7 separate regions of the Homo sapiens genome follow, and all the other regions are linked to region 6. The links are contacts of gene promoters, found by promoter capture Hi-C in blood cells and fetal thymus (Javierre and others, 2016). All regions are on one chromosome and are shown on one strand. The core of a region is centred on a gene start or on the middle of the fragment in contact, and the rest is flanking DNA. Distances in the headings are between cores, read along the strand shown.

Evidence for each region. The method cuts DNA at HindIII sites, captures the fragments that hold promoters and counts their contacts. A CHiCAGO score of 5 or more calls a contact.
Region 1: a contact is called between a fragment that was not itself captured here and the fragment with the promoter of TDRD1 in region 6, in 1 of 17 cell types (total CD4 T cells). The highest score is 6.9, in total CD4 T cells.
Region 2: a fragment that was not itself captured here is called in contact with the fragment with the promoter of TDRD1 in region 6 in 4 of 17 cell types (activated CD4 T cells, naive CD4 T cells, total CD4 T cells and 1 more); the score reaches 7.3 in activated CD4 T cells.
Region 3: a fragment that was not itself captured here is called in contact with the fragment with the promoter of TDRD1 in region 6 in 1 of 17 cell types (total CD4 T cells); the score reaches 5.5 in total CD4 T cells.
Region 4: a fragment that was not itself captured here is called in contact with the fragment with the promoter of TDRD1 in region 6 in 7 of 17 cell types (naive CD4 T cells, total CD4 T cells, naive CD8 T cells and 4 more); the score reaches 8.4 in naive CD4 T cells.
Region 5: a fragment that was not itself captured here is called in contact with the fragment with the promoter of TDRD1 in region 6 in 4 of 17 cell types (total CD8 T cells, naive CD8 T cells, activated CD4 T cells and 1 more); the score reaches 6.6 in total CD8 T cells.
Region 7: a contact is called between the fragment with the promoter of FHIP2A here and the fragment with the promoter of TDRD1 in region 6, in 16 of 17 cell types (naive CD8 T cells, total B cells, activated CD4 T cells and 13 more). The highest score is 34.7, in naive CD8 T cells.

What each region holds. Positions count from the first base shown.
Region 1 is chr10:114,861,083-114,863,782 of GRCh38, forward strand. It overlaps FHIP2A (FHF complex subunit HOOK interacting protein 2A), which reads left to right. Exons shown (of 17, transcript NM_020940.4): 16 at 149-252; 17 at 353-2,700. The coding sequence ends at 458. Among named protein-coding and RNA genes, the nearest start is that of FHIP2A, 41 kb to the left of the region's middle. The HindIII fragment of the contact is 2,208 bases long and covers 201-2,408 here.
Region 2 is chr10:114,929,401-114,932,338 of GRCh38, forward strand. No RefSeq gene overlaps it. Among named protein-coding and RNA genes, the nearest start is that of TRUB1, 7.3 kb to the right of the region's middle. The HindIII fragment of the contact is 1,940 bases long and covers 393-2,332 here.
Region 3 is chr10:114,839,412-114,842,262 of GRCh38, forward strand. All of the region lies in intron 5 of FHIP2A (FHF complex subunit HOOK interacting protein 2A), which reads left to right. Among named protein-coding and RNA genes, the nearest start is that of FHIP2A, 19 kb to the left of the region's middle. The HindIII fragment of the contact is 4,538 bases long and covers 1-2,851 here.
Region 4 is chr10:114,794,189-114,797,028 of GRCh38, forward strand. It overlaps a transcript of ABLIM1 not described here. Among named protein-coding and RNA genes, the nearest start is that of FHIP2A, 26 kb to the right of the region's middle. The HindIII fragment of the contact is 1,148 bases long and covers 794-1,941 here.
Region 5 is chr10:114,950,822-114,953,718 of GRCh38, forward strand. It overlaps TRUB1 (TruB pseudouridine synthase family member 1), which reads left to right. Exons shown (of 8, transcript NM_139169.5): 3 at 273-328. Among named protein-coding and RNA genes, the nearest start is that of TRUB1, 14 kb to the left of the region's middle. RefSeq lists a silencer at 2,446-2,495. The HindIII fragment of the contact is 842 bases long and covers 1,009-1,850 here.
Region 6 is chr10:114,178,045-114,181,002 of GRCh38, forward strand. TDRD1 (tudor domain containing 1) reads left to right here and starts at 1,309. Exons shown (of 25, transcript NM_001395205.1): 1 at 1,309-1,372. The HindIII fragment of the contact is 8,256 bases long and covers 851-2,958 here.
Region 7 is chr10:114,820,465-114,823,295 of GRCh38, forward strand. It overlaps FHIP2A (FHF complex subunit HOOK interacting protein 2A), which reads left to right and starts at 1,316. Exons shown (of 17, transcript NM_020940.4): 1 at 1,316-1,659. The coding sequence starts at 1,615. LOC124902508 (translation initiation factor IF-2-like) reads right to left here and starts at 2,484. Exons shown (of 2, transcript XM_047426127.1): 1 at 809-2,484. The coding sequence starts at 1,637. The coding sequence ends at 1,032. RefSeq lists silencers at 1,065-1,374, 1,385-1,734, 1,795-2,014 and an enhancer at 1,720-2,220. The HindIII fragment of the contact is 9,749 bases long and covers 1-2,831 here.

The DNA of each region.
Region 1 (2,700 bases), core at 55-2,554, 680 kb after region 6:
ATGAGTCCTTGGTTAAAGATGATTATATGAGTAGTGAAAGTTTACGTTCTTTATTAAATAGTAGGGAAGGAAGATTTTTCTTTTTAGATCCTGAGGTTGTCTGTGTAGCTGATTTCAGGAACTGAAGTGCCTTGCCTCTGTGATGCAGGTTGTTGGAGACCTTATGCTTCGAATCCAGCGTATTCAAGACTTTACTCCCAAGCTTCTGTTAGTCAGAAAGCGGTTACTTGGTTTGGAACCTGAAGGCCCTATGTAAGTTAGTGTTTTACATTTTTTTAATCCAAAAATTTCAGTGAACTTAATGATCGGCTGCTATCTTGAATTGATTTATTGTCTGTTTTTTCCTTACCAGTATTGACCACATCACACTGCTAGAGGGTGTGATTGTGTTAGAAGAGTTCTGTAAGGAGCTGGCGGCAATCGCATTTGTAAAATATCATGCTTCCTCCACACCATAAATAACATCTTTCATGTAACTGGGGGAACAGAACTACTGTGTACATTTCACCAAAAAAGACTCAGTTCCACCCAGCCACAAGAGGATAAAAAGCCTTTTTAAACGCAGTATTGCTGTAAACTGGACAGAACCATTAAGAACCTATTGAGTGGACATTCTTGGTGAAATGTTGTATAATGTTGTTTTCATTGGCTTTATCATAATGGTTCTATATATACAATTGCACATTGTTGAATCCAGGATACAATCAAAGGAACTTCAGGAAATAAGCATTTCTAATGACTGTGAAAAGCTGCAATATTTCCAATGTCATGACTTTGATGATATTTCTGTTATATTAATGTCCTTTTAGGTAGCAAGGCATTTTGACATTCTCTGGGACTCAAATGCTTGTATTCTTTTGGATTAATAAGTAGCAAAAAAAAATCACTAATTTTATAACTTTTTAAGGTCAGAATTCTTATCAAACAAAATATGAAAACTGTAAATGAGAAAAAAATACAATTCAGAAACCATTGAATGAATTAATTATAGGCGATAAAAATGTGTAGAGCACCATTAACTTTCTTCAGCTTTTTTAAGAATAACAATTTAATATGATAAATTCTTGATTAATATAATATATCTATATTTTTAAAGAAATGTTCTTTTACTCTTTTGTGCACATAGCCATGTTAGTGATTTTCTTCATGTGTGGGTCCCAGTTTATTTAAACTGTGTCGTTTTCGCAGCAGTGTTCAATTTGCTCACCATTGGTAGTGTTTGCTAAAATTGTATTTTTTTAAGCTAAGTAACATGTACTGGGTTGAGAACCTTTTTCCCCCCTCTCCCTCTCAGAAAATTGCTTTATAAAATTGCTTTATAATTTGATTTTCTTACTGAAACGCATGGTGGTGTCTAGGTGGGGAACTGACTGATAACCCTTGGCAGCAATCAAAGTGCCAGTGGCTCCTCGATGTTTACATTTTTTTCTATTTTGTTCAGTCTTTTGTTTTAAATGATTCTAAAGAGATTAAAGAAAACAGAGTTTTAAATGTCCTATTTACATGTTAAAGGATTTGGGGAAATTGGGTATGTATGTGAATGGGTGTACATGTAGGAACCTGTAGTTCAGCAAAGCTGCGCTGGGCACAGCATGCTTGTACTTGATTGACAAAATCGTGTTTGCCAGTCCACTTTCTATTTTTCCTTTAAGTGATGCTGATCACTCAAATAATGCTTTTAAGCTATTGTTTGTTTTTATTTGACATGTTAAGCCGCAGCACTTTCTTCTTCATCTTTCCATTTACTGATATTTGGGGGAACAGGCTATCAAAGGTTCCGGCTTGAAGGGAACTGTCACTACCCCCTCTAGGAAGTTATTTTATGTAGCATGTTTGCATATACGCATTGTGTGGCATGTGCATAGAGGCTTGTTTTACACCTATCTGCTCATTTTGTTGTGTTAGCTTTTCTGGTTTATTTCATAGTTTGTTCTTGCTATTTATTAAGAACAGAATATCAAAAGATTATGAATAGCCTCAGCTCTAGAATGCTTACCACTGTTAAAACAACAAAAAGACTAAACCTCTAATTTCATGCAAATCTTTGTTAGCTTATTCTAAGAAATTTATTAAGTAAAACAAAGAAAAAACAGAAGTGGGAGATAGTTATTTTGTGCGTAATTTTCTTTAAATCATTTTGAATGATGTGAAGGCATTCAGTTTGCTGTATTTTTTTAATCACTTCATACAAGGAAAACTTCGACATTTACATTTCTAGATGTAGTAACAGTCTACTTTGATATATGAGTATTTAAACTAAGGCATTAAGAGATATTAGATATTTCTTAATGTTTTCATAGTGCTCAATAGGTGTAGTAGCAATGATATTACCTCTGAAACCAAATACTCTTTTATCCTTGATTCCACTATGGGACCTTATAACTAGTCCATGAAACCAAGCTCAGAAAAGCTTTAACTCTTATATTTGTGTATATGTATGCTGCTTCTGAAAATATAATTTTTCTAAGTTGTTGTAATGACTTTAATTTGTAATCAGCTAAGGCTTAAGATTTCATTTGTTTCTAAGTTTCTGTTTTTCATCCCTTCTTTTTTCTTTTATATTTAGTTCAGACCTAGAGCCAGTAGAAGCTCTCACAGTGAGTTCAATTTGTTAGTGAAACATTGTACTGCATCACCAGTTTTTCTTACCTTCTGTTGACAGCTGAATATTTCTGTTACTCAGTACTTGCAAAAACAGTA
Region 2 (2,938 bases), core at 113-2,612, 750 kb after region 6:
TCCCCTGCCTCAGCCTCCCGAGTATCTGGGATTACAGGTGCCTGCCACCACGCCCAGCTAATTTTTGTGTATTTTTAGTAGAGACAGGGTTTCACTGTGTTGGCCAGGCTGGTCTCGAACTCCTGACCTCGTGATCCTCCCACCTCAGCCTTCCAAAGTGCTGGGATTACAGGCTTGAGCCACCATGCCCAGCCAAGATTGCTTTTTTAACAAAAGCAGAGGACATGGCGTCTTTGAGACAGAAAAAGACCTGGAATATGAACTGTTGCAGAGAGTCAGCCATGTTATGTTATCAGGACCTGATAACAATGCCCTCATTCTAGACACGATGAGTCTGTTATTGCTGTCAAGATCACATTCGCTGTTCTGGTGGCCATTTTATATTCACACAAAGCTTATATTGCACTCATGTAAGGCTCATTCTAGACTGAAATCCTCAAGACTTTTCATATAGGTTGACTCTAACCTATATTTTCTATGACCTGATCTTGAAAATTATTTTTTAGCATTCACATGTGAGGGCCTAATGGTCCATTTCTGTAAAAATTCAGTTGCATGTGGGTTAAATGAGTTGTGCTAATCACCATGGCTGACATATGCTAAGTGCTCAGAATTTACCATTCTGGAAGGTCTTTCTGTTCTCAAATGTGCTTACTCTTTTTTCCTAGCTTCTTGTCAATGGTAAATGATGTAAACATACTTTCTATAACTTCATCCAAGTCGATGATACTTAAATTTTTGGTCAGAACAGGGCCCCAGATGCTGCCCTGTTACACGACACCAAAAATCTCTTTTGAGTGACATTAATCCATTAAACAGCATCCTTTCCCAGTGAATATTCCATGTAATTTTTCCTACAATGCCCACATTTCATCATCTTGTTCTTAAGAATATCATTATAAACCTTACCAAATAGTTTGCTTAAGTGCAGGTAAACCATACCTGCTGATTTCCTTCACTTACCAGTCTAGGAAACTTATCAAAGAAGGAACTGTGTTAGTATAACATGACTTGTTTAAAAGGAGTTCTGAGGGTAGGAACTTTTCCTTTCACATCTGGCACAGACGCTCAAAACACATTTGCAGAATTCCAAACTCTGTACTGCTAAATCCCCAACGCTTTATACATAGTAGATTCTTGATAAATGTTTGTGGAATTAATAACCCATTCTGGTTTTTTATGACCACAACTTCCTTTCTATACAACTTTTTTTATTTTGAGACAGAGTTTCACTCTCATCCGCCAGGCTGGAGTGCAATGGTGCGATCTTGGCTCACTGAAACCTCTGCCTCCCTGGTTCCAGCAATTCTCCTGCCTCAGCCTCCCAAGTAGTTGGGATTACAGGCACCCACCACCACACCTGGCTAATTTTTGTATTTTTAGTAGAGACAGGGCTTCACCATGCTGGCCAGGCTTGTCTTGAACTCCTGACATCGTGATCTGCCAGCCTCCGCCTCCCAAAGTGCTGGGATTACAGGCATGAGCCACTAGGCCCAGCCTATACAACTATCTTATAAGGAACTTATGTTAGAATTTTGCCCACATTTATTGCTTGTGGTTCACTGAATCTGGCTTCAATTCCTTTTGAAAATTGAAATATGTACCCAATTTGTGTCTTCTGAAATTACTCCAGAGGTAATTCTTCACTTTGCTCTAAGATCTTTGGCAGTGGGTATAGCAGGCTTTGAAGGATTTGGAGGAGGCAGGGGTTCCAGTGCCAGCTTCTTTACTGTGCAGTAAAGGGTTAAGGCCATGTGTTGGTTAATATTAAGTGTCAACTTGATTGGATGGATGGATGCAAAGTATCATTTCTGGGAGTATCTGGGTGTTTCTGGGTGTGGCCAGAAAAGATTAACATTTGAGTCAGTGGACCGGGAGAAGACTCACCCTCAGAAAGACCCACCCACACTGTGGGTGGGCACCATGCAACCGGCTGCCAGCATGGCTAGAAAAAGCAGGCAGAAGAAGGTGGAAGGAGCCAACTTTCTGAGTCTCCCAGCCTTCATCTTTCTCCTGTGCTGGCTATTTCCTGCCCTCAAACATCAGACTCTATGTTCTTTGGCTTTTGGACTCTTGGACTTACACCAGTTGTTGCCAGGGGCTCTTGGGCCACTGGCCACAGACTGAAGGCTGCACTGTCAGCTTCCCTACTTTTGACATTTGGGGACTCAAACTGAGCCACTACTGGCTTCCTTGCTCCTCAGCTTGGGCCTATAGAGGGAGTTTACTTTGTGACTGTGTGAGTCACTTCTCCTTAATAAACTCCCCTTTATATATACATCTATCCTATTAGTTCTGTCCCTCTAGAGAACCCTGACTAATACAGACAGTAAGCTTGGGGTACTCAAGTTCTGCACATTTCAAAGAAATGACTGACCCTTTACTGGCTCCTGGGAGACAACCTCTGAGCCCGTGGAGTATCCTGTCTGATAAAAACGTTTTCGTGTACCTAAGGCCCTGAGCTACTGCTGTATCAGTTTGATCTCTAGGGGACTAGAGACTGAGTACCTAAGGTCAGTCATGGAGGCACTGTGTCTACATGACTGATCCCCAATAAAAACTCTGGATGTCAAGGCTCAGGTGAGCTTCCCTAATTGGCAGCACTTCATACACCTTTGTCACACTTCAGTGCTGGGAGAATTAAGCACTGTGCATGTGTCAGTTGAGAGAGGATAACTGGCCTTCATCCCATGTGCTTTGCCTTTTGCTGATTTTAATTTGTATCCGTTCACTATAAGAAGCTATAACCATGAGTATCACAGCTTTTCTGAATCCTTGAGTTTTTCTAGTGCAGCCAGCCTGAGATTGGTCTTGGGAACTCCTGACATATCCACTTACTCTATGCTAGCAATGTGTCCTTGGTCATATTATCTAATCTTATTTAGTTTCAGTTTCTTCACCTATAATATGGGGATAATAATAATAACATCTCCCTTGT
Region 3 (2,851 bases), core at 192-2,691, 660 kb after region 6:
CCACCATGGCCAGCCAGAAATGCAGTTTTATTACTTATAAGTATAGATAAGAACAAAAGTGCTTTGCAGTTCTCAAGCATGTATTCCCTGAAATGTCATCTTTCTCTATTCATTACTGTCAGCCAATATTTGCATCTACTATTGGTTAAATATATATGGTAGATGAGTTAGAAACAGTCTTTGCCGGCCGGGCGCGGTGGCTCATGCCTGTAATCCCAGCACTTTGGTAGGCTGAGGCGGGCAGATCATAAGGTCAGGAGATCAATCAAGATCATCCTGGCTAACACAGTGAAACCCCTTCTCTACTAAAAATACAAAAAATCAGTCGGGCTTGGTGGCCCATGCCTATAGTCCCAGCTACTCAGGAGGCTGAGGCAGGAGAATTGCTTGAACCCAGGAGGCAGAGGTAGCAGTAAGCCAAGATCACGCCACTGCACTTCAGCCTGGGCGACAGAGCGAGACTCTGTCTCAAAAAAAAAAAAAAAAAAAAGAAAAGAAACAGTCTTTGTCCTAAAGGAGTTTACAGTCTGGTGAAGACAGTAAATGAATGTTCAGATACTGTAATCTAAAGTAGAGTAAGGTGAGAATCAAAGGAAAGATACAAAGTAAATTCCTTAAGTACTTACAGGATGGAGAGATTCATCAGCTCTAGGTCATCAAGAAAGTCTTCCTGGAAGAGGTCATCTTTGAAATGAGGCTGGGCGCGGTGATTCACACCTGTAATCCTAGCACTTTGGGAGGCTGAGGCAAGCAGATTGCTTGAGCCCAGGAGTTCGAGATCAGCCTGAGCAACATAGCAAGACCTCATCTCTATAAAAAATAAATAAATACAGACAAATGAGCCTTGACATGTTTAGAGTGGGTGAACATAAGGAATGAAGATGTAAAAGTTTGTGGTGTGTTCAGGAAACAGTATAATTAAGATGTGTGGCAAGAAGCACCTGAACAGATAGACTAAGTATTGTCAAAGGCTTTGAATGACAAGGTGAAGAGTTTATTCTTACTTGTAGATACTGGGGAGCCATTAACTATTTTTGAGCAGGGATGTTATTATGTGATGGTATCTGTGCCTTAAGTTAAATTGGCAGCAGCCTTTTATATGGCAGATTCTTTGAGAGGAGAGATAAAATCAGGGAAACTAATTTGGAAACTGATGGAGTAACCCAGGCAAGAAGTAACAAGGACTACGACCAAGTTGGAAGCAGTGGGTTGGAATGAAATGCGTAACTTCAGACTAGAGGTAGGCTCTATATGGCCTTGTAACTGCTCAGATGCAGAAGCTGGGAAAGGATGATTTGAATGCTGGAATTCCTGAACCAATAAGGCTGCTGCTAGTAGAAAAACAGGGGCCCCAAGGGAGCTGATTTTGAGGGGAAGATGATAATTTTGGTTCCGGATGCTTTGAGTCATCATGATTTCCTGATGGAGATAATTAGCAGGTATTCGGTATTGCAAATCTTTGATTTGGGAGGGAAGTTTAAGTTTAAGAGATTTAGAAGCTATGTGTGTGACTATGTTGTGGGTACTGATGAGATCCCTAAAACAGAAGGGGAACAGTTTTAGTAGGAACCAAAGTGTTAAAGCCACAGTTCCTCATCACCTAGGAAATTTTTCTAAAATGCACATTCCTTGGCTCCACCTCCAGATATTCAACAGGTCCGGATGGGACCCAGGAATCTGCATTTTTATCAAGCCCCACAGAAGACCAGGATACCAACAATCTTGAGTCTTACTTTGAGAAACATTGATTGAAGGACAGAGTGCTATACTAACATCCTTCCTCTTGCTGTTCTTATTTGAGACGCCTCTCCCAACAATATTACTAGTATTTTAAATTGAATGAAATGTTTTACTTTCATAAAGAGTATGATATGCCATTGGTTTTTTTTTTTTTTTTTTGAGGTGGAGTCTTGCTCTGTTGCCCAGGCTGGAGTGCAGTGGCATGATCTCGGCTCACTGCAACCTCTGCCTCCCAGATTCAAGTGATTATTCTGCCTCAGCCTCCCTGGTAGCTGGGATTGCAGGCACATGCCACCACGCCCAGCTAATTTTTGTATTTTTAGTAGAGACAGGGTTTACCATGTTGGCCAGGCTGGTCTCGAACTCCTGACCTCAAGTGATCCGCCTGCCTCAGCCTCTCAAAGTGCTGGGATGTGAGCCACTGCACCCGGCCAATATGCCATTGATTTTGTTGGAAATTGGCAAATTGTTTGGAGTATTCATTGAGTCCCATAGAGTTGTTTGCTTTTAATAAATATGTTCTGTGAACTCAATTTCTCAAGAAGATTGGTCTAACCTATACTTTTAACAGCAATAAAAGTGATTTATAATTAGTATAATATAACTTTGGAAGTAGAACCCTGAATTCATTCAGCCTTTAATATGTTTCTATGATGATAGGCCCTGGGAGAAGTTAGTTTATGGTGAATTTTAACCTACTTGTGTAATCTGATTTCTGCTCTTATGTTCAAATGGAAAGCAAGATACTTTTGCCTTGAAGCTAACAATTTGCTAATTTGCTTCAGTTAAGAGTCTTTTTGTGTTTTGGTATGTGGATTGGGGGAGGGAGCACCAGCATTTCAAGCAAATCTTATTTCTATCCTAAAGACACTGGTAAAAATGTCCCCTGAGTAGTTTCTTGGGTTCTCTTTTTTTAAATTTTTTTGAGACAGGGTCTTGCTCTGTGCCCAGGCTGGAGTGCAGTGGCATGATCACAGCTCACCACAGCTTCAACCTCCCAGGCTCAAGCAATATTCCTGCCTCACTCAGCCTCCCAAGGCCTAGGACCATAGGTGCAAGCCACCACACCCAGCTTATTTTATTTTATTTTTTTAGTAGAGACATGATCTCA
Region 4 (2,840 bases), core at 118-2,617, 620 kb after region 6:
ATACATACATAGCTTGACCCCTCTACTTATTCGTGTTCGCTATCCTCTTACCCTGCTTCATTTTCTCTTCACTACATTTAGTCACCATTTGATATATTATATCTCTTTTGTTTATTGATTCTCATCCCCAATTACAATGCAAGTGCCATGAAAACATAGACTTCGTATGTCTTATTTATTCCCATATGCCCAACAACCAAAAAATGTACCTGGCACATAATAAGTACTCAGTAAGTTTTGCTGAATGAATGAATGAATTTTTACTAAGAACCATTTATAGGTTCATTTAAAAAATCAAAGGAATTTACAAATGTAAGTTTGATTATGAACATCTGAGGTTTCTGAAAAATGAGATACAACTAGAAAAATGAGTAACATCAGTAATTGAGGATACATATTTGTGTTTTTTGGGGTTTCTTGATGCTGATGTTTTTTAATGCTGAAATTTTGTAAAATAAAATTCAAACTACATACTAATCACTAACCTTTTTAATATAAAATAGTACTTTATCTAAAGCAAGCTTGACCCACAGTTAATTAGCTGGATCATAGCCAGGAAAGTGCTAAAATGTCAAGGAAGTGAAAATTGTCTTTCTTTGACTCTCAGGAGTACAAGTAAAACCAGGGAATAGCTGGCAAATCTATTTTTTTCAAGTATAGTGAGAAAAAATACAGGAAAACATTCAAGAATCTCCCTAATGCTGAGAATATATGACAGCAAATTAACTTCCTGGCTGTAATGAGGAATAATTGGACATACATCTGAATTTTTATGAGATTTAAGGAAATTGAAAGCTTGAACACACTTGAGATTAATTTTTTAAAAAACTCCATGTTCTAATGAAACTTAAACCAACCCTCTCACTTTTCTAGTTCTATTTTTAAGGAAGAAAAAAATAAAAATATCATATAATCACATTTTTTAAAAACTGAGACCCAGATTATAAATCAAAGGGTCACACAAACATTCTTTGACCTAATAGTCATGCGCATACAAATGGTAGCGTCTATGGCATGCAAATAGAAGACACAAAGTGCCTTTCTGGCAGTCTGCCCTTCTCTGAATATTACATTTAGAGGGAATAGGCAGAATGCAGACACTAGACCCTGTCACTCATTCACCGCACAAAAAGGTCAGACTTACATTGAAGTGCTTAAGTGGGATAACTAATACCAGGTCCACTATGCCATCCTTGTCAAGTGGTCAAAAGAAGCCTAGTAGAAATTACACTTCTGGGCTGGGTGCAGTAGCCCACACCTGTAATCTCCGCACTTTGGGAGGCCGAAGTGGGCGGATCACCTGAGGTCAGGAGTTTGAGACCAGCCTGGCCAAAATGGTGAAACCCTGTCTCTACTAAAAATATTAAAAAACTAGCCAGGCGTGGTGGCACGAGCCTGTAGTATCAGCCACTTGGGAGGCTGAGGCAGGAGAATTGCTTGAACACGGGAGGCAAAGGTTGCAGTGAGCTGAGATCACACCATTGTACTCCAGTCTGGGCAACAAGAGCGAGACTCCATCTCAAAAAAAAAAAAAAAGAAATTACATTTCTGGTTTTACCACTCAGTGGTCGCACAAACCTGAATTAATCCTCTCAATTCTTCCAGAAATTGTGGCAAAAAGATATAAGCCTGCCTTAGAAATACTTGCATATTACTATATGGTAGGGATGTAAAATTACTTATCATACTAAATATTATTCCATATTCCATGAGAAAGCATGTCCTTGTTTTTATTTTATTTTGCCTATAAAAAAGCCAAACTATGACCTATTCAGTATTTTCAGGTAGTTATTACCACCTCCTGAATTTATGGGCATCCACTACAAAAGGAGGCCAAGATATCCTCAGATATGTGTGATCTTACAGAACCTTGACTTGAGAGGCAGGAGCCCTGTGTTCTCACTTCATGTTGGCCACTAACTAGCTTTGTGACTTTGGGTAAGCTTCAAAATTTTTCAGTATTATTTATCTATTGCTGCTTAACAAATTACCCCAAGCATAGAGGCTTAAAACAACAAACATATTATCTCACAGTTTCTGTGGGTTGGGAATTCAGGAGTGGCGTAACAGGTCCCACAGGGCTCAGGGATTCTCAAGAGGTTGCGATAAAGATGTCAGCTGGAACTGCTGTCATCTGAAGGCTTGACTGGAGCTGGGGGATCTACTTCTAAGCTCACTCACATGGTTGCTGGCAAGAGGCTTCAGTTCCTTGCCATGTGGGTCTCTCCAGGGTTGTTTGTGATATGTCAGTTGGCTTTCCCCAGAGTGAAGACCCAAGAGCAAGAGGGCAACTAGACAAGAGTGAACACTAGCCTTTAAACCTAATCTCAGACATAACATACTTCTGCTGTATTCTACCCTTCACATAAACTGACCCTGGTACACTGCAGGAGGGTACTACACAAGGGTGTGAATACCATAAAGTGGGGCTCACTGGGGAATATCTTGGAGGCTGGCTACCACTCTCTGACCCCAGTTTCCTTATCTATAGAAGTCTTTGAACTACATGATCTTTAAGGTTGGTAATCTCCTCCCTCCCCACTGCTACTCCCAGACCTTGCTTTTCCACTGTCATGTCAAAATTCCTACTCCTTTTAGCTTTAAGCCATTTGGCTATACCAACCTCCACCCCACCTTGTTGCTGTTACTTGTAGACTTCTGGGCCATGGGACAGTTGTTCTCCTCACTCCAAGTCCTGCCATCATCTTACGACCTGCATATCCTCATGGGTGACCCATCCCAAACCGTGAACTTTCAGCTTCTTGACCTCATCATCTCTAATGCCTTTCCCATACACTCCATTTCAATACCCATCCTCCACATCAACATCCTAAATTTGC
Region 5 (2,897 bases), core at 180-2,679, 770 kb after region 6:
TTCATTGTCTAATTGGCTGGGTTAAGGTTTCTACTGAGTTTAATACTTTGAGAATGGGGAGAAAGGTCTTCTCTTGTCCCTTCTTTAGAATTTCTTAGTTGCATGACAAGTTCAACTGTTTGGAGTAATAGGAGCCCTAACATTTTGCTAAATATCTGTTCTTTCCCACTTCACATTACCTAAGCTGGGAAATTATGACCAAAAAATATAGCTATTTTAAAAACCTAGTTTTCAGAACAGAGTGTCATAATATTTCTTTCTTTGATTTGTAGTTGTTGGAATTGGAAGCGGAACAAAAATGTTGACCAGTATGTTGTCAGGGTCCAAGGTAAGAATACTGAAATAGTTCTATTTTTCTTTAATGTTCTTAATGATCTACATGTATTGGGTTTTTATCAAATAAAAAATAAACTGAGTAAACTGCATGAATGGGTATCATTCCTGAGTATTAATTATGTCTATAAACATATCTGAGATTGAAAATATCGAGACTGAAAATTGGAAATTCTTAATTGAAAAACCAATTAGACTTAAAGAAACAATGCTACAGTGCTCATCATTTAACAAAATTATATTTAGACTTTTAAAACATCATATTTCTTAGATGATTGGGACTTAGAGGTCATAAACTCTAGTGACAGACTTTTTTAAACCTTGGAATTTTTATAGAAACAATACCATTTTGTAAACTGTGCCCTTTGAGCAAAAATATGCTTTGTTCAATGGTTATAAATGTTTATTAAAGAAAAGAGTAGGGCCTCTTTAAGATGATAAAGTATGTTCATATATGAGAGTAACCTTGAATAGATCCAAAAGCACTTTTCCAGGCACTTGATAGAAGAGAGAAGGGGTTATTTGGAGGCAGGAGAGGCTGGAAAGCTGTGAACTGCTGGTAGAAGGGGTCTCTTCCATCTCTCAAAGAGAGAGTAATATCTGTATCCTAATGAGTAATTAGGTGCTGGTTATAAGTGCTGGGACTAAGGGTCAATGAAAATGCACGTGGAAGGAAGCTTAGTATGCCAAGAGGTAGCGAAAAATTTCATTATGTTCCTGGAATAAACTTTGTTTTAAAACTCTTGCTCTAAATGTGATATAAATTGTTGATAAAATGATTTTTGTTTCTTTAAAAAAATCTGTTGTCAAAGACCATTTAAAAAACAATTTCCAGTTCATTGCAGACTGATTGATGACTTTTGTAAAATATAATTAAAATACGGCAATGTAAAATTGCTAAATAAGTTTCTACGCAATCTCATTTTCTGAACTTATTATAGATAACTGGCCTGTGGAAAACACTTGACGTAGTAGTGGTTTAAGTATTAAAATAAAAGCCCTGACCGAGCGTGGTGTCTCATGCCTGTAATCCTAATACTTTGGAAGGCCGAGGCGGGCAGATCACTTGAGGTCAGGATTTCGAGACCAGCCTGGCCAACATGGTGAAACCCATCTCTGTTAAAAATACCAAAAAAAGTATCCAGGCGTGGTGCTATACACCTTTAATACCAGCTACTCGGTAGACTGAGGCAGGAGAATCACTTGAACCCAGGAGGCGGAGGTTGCAGTGAGCCAAGATCACGCCATTGCACGCCAGCGTGGGTGACAGAGTGAGATGACTCCATCTCAATAAATAATAAGTAAGGTAGGTAGGTAGGTAGGTAGATAGGTAGATAGGTAGGTAGGTAGGTAGGTAGATAGATACATAGATACATAGATTGATTGATTGATTGATCGATTGATTTTAAAAAGCCTCGGAGAACATATTGCATGTGATGTCTCATTTTGGTTATCAACTGGCATAAAAATCTGTGCCATTCAATTGGAAGGAATCTTAGTGCCTCTGATAAATGAAAAGCTTCAGTGTGGCTTGCTCTGTAATCTTCAAAATATTGGTGTTGAAAAATTACAGAGTATAAAAATTGCATTAGAATGAAGGTGTTTGACAGTTTCTCAGTAAATTTTTATACTGTGCTTACTGACACATAGAGTTTAGAATCTGTTTCTGATACTGGTTTTTGCCAGTTGTTTAATATTTGTTTCTGAACTCCCAAAGATGAACAATGTTTACTTTAATATGGGATTATGGATGATTTTTTTTTCACATTATTTGGTATTTTCTAAAATCTATACAATAAACAAGTCACTTTTATGTTAATAATAAAAAAGATATATTTACGTTAAGGAATTTGTTTGGGTTTTTTTACCAAGATAAAATATGTTGAGTTCATTGAGATATTCGTTGTTCACCCCTCCTCCCCCAAACCACAAACACAGCACACTATATATTACTGAAAGATTTTACTTGTAAATTTCAGGCATATTTTCAGAAATATTATGACTGAAAATGTAAATACATCATTGACTCTGGTATAAATTTTGTAACAGCCAATTTGCTGTTCAGCTACGAAAGCTGAATGTCATACAGTGAAATCACTGATCCTCAAAATGACTGTAACATAAATAGAATACCACAGGCACGTCTTGTTACAGAAACCTAGTTCTTAGGTATTTCAAAAATAGGCATCGTTGTCTTGTTAGCTATTTATATTTCTTATCCTTTTAATTTTATGTACCTGTTAAAAGAACTAAATCATTAAGAGTTTAATGTTGAAGATTATTTTTTAATAAAAAGTAGTTAAAAACTGTTAATAAATATTTTTTCTTTTTTTAAAAGCACTAGAAGGAATCTTAGAGATCATCTTATCTAGTGACTTTCAAAATTTTTTTGACTAAGACCCATAGTAAGAAACATATTTTATGTAATGACCATATAGATACATACATTTATGAAAAGGAAAAATTTTATCAAACAACTTTGTGTTAGTCTGTTTGTGTTGCTGTAAAGGAGTAGTCGAGGCTGGGTAATTTATAAAGAAAAGAGGTTCATTTGGCTCATGGTT
Region 6 (2,958 bases), core at 59-2,558:
GTTGGCCAGGCTGGTCTCGAACTCCAGACCTCAAGTGATCTGCCTGCCTCGGCCTCCCAAAGTGCTGGGATTACAGGCATGAGCCCCCACGCCCAGTCAGCACTTTCATTTCACTATTCTGTAAATCTGAAACTGCTCTAAAAAATAAATTTAAAAGACACATCAACTAAAGAAAAAAAATCAGGCTTTTAAAGAATTGAAGTTAGTGAAGTTAGTTTTATTCAGAGTCTTACTGAGGACTGCAACCAGGGAGAGCCCAGAGAATTTCTGTTAAACTACTCCAAAGCAGTGGGTCAGCACACTTTAAATATTAGGTGGTAGAGGTTCTGCCCAGGGGTTACATTAAAAGTGCCCAGAAGCTATATAAGATCAAAATATTTTCAAAGTTTGGGTGCGAGAGTAAGTCTAGGCATCATCATTAATCTTGTCCGTTAGGTACAGAAAAAGGCAAGGCCTAGATCTCTGAAAGTATCTTTTCTAAAAATGCAGTGACTCTGAGAGGTGGGAACCTGAGTTCTCTCCGCAGTCTTCAAGGCATTCTTCTGGAGGGCTGAGATGTTACTAAGTCAAGGGGTCTGAAATGCTGACAAACACAGTGAACAAACGTGGCTTTTTCACAGTGAGGGAGGACTATGCTGGGGGCCAGAAGCAGACGTTCGCTACTTTGTCTCACATTTACAATTCTCGGATTTGCTTCAAAACATTGCCCGAAGAGTGCCTGGGCTGCAGATGTAGACAAGATTAACCATGAATTGATAAGGTAGAAACTAGATGATAGGCACACAAGGGTTCCCTTATGAAATTGTTAGAAAAGTTCCATAGCAAAAAAAAAAAAAAACAAAACTTAAAAAGCTTGTCTTTAAGTAACACCAACAGGTATAATCACATGCCCTCAGTCAGGAAGCAAAGAAAAAAAGTATGAGCACGTGTGTGTTTACTTTCCAAGACCAGGCAGAGGCTGTTGATTATTTGGAAAACCTTGGAAGACCTTTAAGTGGCCACGGTGACCCAAGTGACCTTCGAGGAGACAAAGTCTGCATCTTTGCGCCCAAATTTGCCAAAGGCGTTGCCAGAGACATCTTTCTAGAAGAAGCTAGAACAAAATAAAAGTTTCTGCAAAGGAACTTTTTGAGCCTGTAACTAGAGCACAAGCTGCTTCCGGGGAAGGCGGAGGGAACACGTGGGCACATTGAGTTGCACGTGGACGCGGAGTGCGCAGGCGTGCGCTGAGGCCAGGAGGGCGCACTGGGGATTGGAGGCGAGGGAAGTGCAGGGCGCATCCCAGGCGGCAGGGCTCCCAGCATCGGCAGTCGCCATCACCGCCAGACCGCAGAGACAGGTTCGGATCCGCGGTCCTCTTGCCTCTTTCCAGGTCAGGGTTCCCAGGCGTATAGGGGAGGGAGAGGGCCTGCATGAAGGGGAAGGGAGGGGGCTTCGGTCGTTGGGGGCCAGACGTTGGGCGCTGGACGTTGAGGTTGGGCGTTGAGCGGGTACAAGGGGCCTGGAAGTGGAGAGAGGAGACTTGGAACCTTGCTGCGAGGGTTTGGTGTGGGAGGATTCTCTGAGTTTGGAAATAGCGCTTCCAGGCATCACTCCTTCAAATGCAAACGTTCACCTTCTCTCTAAGAGAAACTTGCATGTGGATTCAGTGCCTTCGTTTGACTAAAAATTACGATACAAACAATATTAACATTTACTAGACTTTTTTTTCCCTACTTTCCTCCTATAGGAAAGGAAGATGTGCTAGGGCATTTACTTAGATGTGGGTCAGCTGGCGCTAGTTTGTTTAAGGAGTTCCTGCTGTGTGCCAGTAGCTTTTCCGGGCCCTAGGGTCCTTGCTATAAATACGTTAGCCCTGCTGGGCTTCTGAACTAAGGGAGCTAAATGCTTCCAGCTTCCTTAGTGAGGCAGCACGGTGCTGTATGCTTAAATCCAAGGCCGTGGAGTCTGACCTGCGTTTTTATCTAAACTGTGTAAGGTGCTGGCCCTGGGTGGTTTGGTAAGTTATTCCAACTTCCCACGTCTCCCTTGTTTATCTGTAGGAATAACGAAATAAAAATACTTTAGTCCTCAAATTATTTTCATCTTAAGCCTGCAAGCTGGTTCCACAGGAATGGAAGAAATTTTGTGCTTGTAGGAGTGGTATAAAAGTAAAGCAGAAATAATAGCTGCCCTTTAAGCCCTTAGGAAGTACTAGCCACTGTGCTAAGTGATTTACTTCGTCTCTCATTTAATTCTCGTGATTAGGATTTGTGAGGAAGTTAACTACTGCCCTCTGCATTTTACAGTCGCTGAATCCTAGAAAGATGAAGTGATTTGCCCAAGATAGCGTGGCTAAATGAGGAAGACGAGACTTACCTGGCTGACTTAAGAGCTCATGCTTTACCGAAGCGTTGCGTTTTGTCTGTTTAAAACCGGAGTGTTTTTGTTTGTTCTTTGAGTAAGAGTTTCACTCTTGTTGCCCAGGCTGGAGTGCAATGGCGCGATCCCAGCTCACTGCAACCTCCGCCTCCCGGGTTCAAGCGATTCTCCAGCCTCAGCCTTCCTAGTAGCTGGGATTACAGGCCAGCCACCGGCGCCCTGCTAATTTTTGTATTTTTAGTAGAGACAGGGTTTCACCATGTTGGCCAGGCTGGTCTCCAACTCCTCACCTCAGGTGATCCGCCCACCTCGGCCTCCAAAGTGCTGGGATTACAGGCGTGAGCCACAGCGCCCAGCCAAAACCGGAGTGTTTTCTTTGAGTAGAATGGTTCTTGCAGAATACATGGGGTTGCCAGGAAGACAAAAGCAAACATCAGAGAAGGAAAAAAATGACAGCTGAGTATCTGTGCATACACTTTTGTTGTTAAAAGAACTCCAGCCTGTGGTATCCTAGAGGGAGAAGAAATGACTTACCCCACTATTCATAGTGTATCTTAGGAAGCCCCCAGCAACATCAGGGAGAACCGATAGGATTCC
Region 7 (2,831 bases), core at 66-2,565, 640 kb after region 6:
GTGTGTGTGTGTGTGTGTGTGTGTGTGTGTGTGTATTTTTTTTTTTTTTTTTGAGATGGAGTTTTGCTCTTGTTGTCCAGGCTGGAGCGCAATGGCGCAACCTTGGCTCACTGCAACTTCCGCCTCCCGAGTTCAAGGATTCTCCTGCCTCAGCCTCCCAAGTAGCTGGGATTACAAGCATGTAATCCCATTACACCACCACGTTCGGCTAATTTTTTTTTTTTTTTTTTTTTTGTATTTTTAATAGAGACGGAGTTTCACCATGTTGGCCAGGCTGGTCTCGAACTCCTGGCCTCAAGTGATCCTCCCGCCTTTGCCTCCCAGAGTGCTGAGATTACAGGCGTGAGCCACCGCGCCTGGGCCAGATACGTATTTTCAGCACTGGTTGTGCAAAACTCACTCCCCACCTCATCTTAAGAACTTAATGAACCTTTTGGTAAAACGCCAATACCAGCATAAAACAAATTTCTTCAGGATACAAATATTTTCATAATTTGTATTAACTCAACCTAAACTTTACCAGCCTGAACTGCTTCTTCAAGGCTTGACTAATACACTGTTAGGGAGTATTTTAAGCAGCCTCCACCCAAGTGCTTACCTTGTAGCTCTATTTATCTGCCTTAGGCATTTACTGGACTCCTTTCAGATTCTTTCCCTCGCTAATGTTTTCCGGTATCATCTGATAACTGAATAGAAAATGCTGTTCTGAATCACTACACCTCACTATCAACCATATCACAAATAAATTATGTTATATATTATATATAAATATTATAATGGGCTATTTAAACTAAGCCAGCCGTCTTACCATGTGCTCATGTGGGATTTCCTGTTTCAATGTTGAATAATAATATATTTTAAAGTTAGCAAAGCCATTTCACCTGCAGTCGTTGATTTCTTCAAAATCTGAGCATTTAAATCCATTGCCAATGTTTGCTTAAAGAACACTGTTTTCTTAACGAGTCTTCCAAATCGGTCCTTACAGGAAGAACCTCTGAATGCTATACGCATATATGGACGGCTGCGTGTCCCTACAAAGTCAGCCTGTTACTTCCACTGGAGAAACAAAACTCTTGAGAATCGCTGAGCTGTAAAAATGTTAGAAAGCCGGTGTCCCAGGCGCCCTGAGAAAGCCGGGAGAGGGCGGTGGCTGCCCACAGGCCGCCTCCAGCCCCGCGCGAGGCCGAGGCCTCAGCGCGCCCCCCGCCCCCGCGGCGCCTAGCGGCCCCGCCGCAGGGCAGGCCTGGCCGGGCCTCCCCGGGCTGCGGCGGCGCCCCCTGCAGGCCGCGGCGGGCAGAGCGGGGGGAAGGAACCCGAGCCGGGCTGCCACCGTGTCCCAACCGGTGCCGCCGCCGGAGCTTCTCCGGGCCCCGAGTCCTCGCCGAACGCCCTCCTCGCCGCCCGCCGCGTCCCGGCGCCCTCCGGAGCCGCCGAGCCGCCCGCGCACACCTGAAGCGGCCGGGCCAGGCCCTGCCTCGATCCTCAGCTCGTCCTCCCCGCCCCGCACCGGCCTTCACTCTGGAGCGGCCCCGGCAGCCGCAGCAGGGGCGGCGGCGGCGGATCGAGGAGCTCTCCAGGTCGTCCCGGGAGAGGCTGCTGCAGTCCCGGGACAGGATGTTCTCCAAGTTCACCTCCATCCTGCAGCACGCCGTGGAGGCGGTAAGGCCGCGGGCTGCGGGCGCACGGCAGGCCGGGGATGGCGGCGGCCTACGCTCCCCGGCGGCCTCGGGGACAAGCCGGGCGGCCTTGGCCCGGCCCTCGGCGGCCCTGTCCCCGGTTGGGGTGAGGCCCCAGGCGGGCGCCCTGGGCGGCCGCCGGGTCGTGGGGGCGCCCGGGGCCTCGGGCCTGGCTCTGCGGGGGTCCCGTCGGTCCCTGGCTGCCCCAGGCCGGCAGTCCCTGCCCTCCTCCAGGAGCCGGGGCGGGGGTGCCGGGGAGGACCTGGCCGCCCAACGCCGCTCGGTGGTCGCCTCATTCCTCTGATGGGGCCGGGGGTTCGGGGAGCACCTGGCGGGGTCGCAGAGAGCTCCCCCGGGCTCCCTTAACGTTAACCTTCTCCGGAAAAAAAGTGGTCAGCGTTGAGCAAGACAAAAGAAACGAGCAAGCACCGCTTGGGCTTGGTTCTGTTTTGTTTTGGTTTTCGGGGGTAGAGGTGGGAGAGGCATGGTCTCGCTGTGGGGCGTCCCTGGCGAGGGAGCCGCCGACCAGCCCCCGGGTTGCTGGCTTTTGCTTTCTTGGGCCTGGAGGCCGAACTCAGCTGAACCTTATGTATTGATCTGAAATAGGAGTTTGGAGGGTCCAGTCGAGTTTGCTTTCGACAGCTTCCAAGCTCACCGAGCCCAGAGACCATCTGTTTCCTTTCTTGTCTAGTTCTCTTCCTGGACACTCTTCGTTTATCCTGCAATTGTACTCTCCTTTGAGGGTTTTAGACACCAGCATAGAGACAGTATTCAAGTATCCTAGTAGACTAATAAGTGAAAAGAAACTAAAAAGAAAATGCCTTGTCACTGTTCTAGTAAGAATGCTAGTTGCTTCACTTGTTTACTTTATTCTGGGAGAACTGCCCAAATTGAAAAATGCATTCTGTGCAGAAACAATTACTTTGCTAATTTTTAACATGACATTCTCTTCCTATGTTCATATTATGTGATAGGACACTTTAAAATGTACACTTTAAAAATGTCAGATACAACAATGATTTTTTATGGGCAGGCAAAAATGGAGTTTTTGCCTTCAGTAATAAAAACAAACTTTAGTACAATTGTTATTTAAGTGATACATGAGAAGCGTTAAAAAATTTAGCTCTAGGGCAAGCTCTTGGGAAAATGTATCAA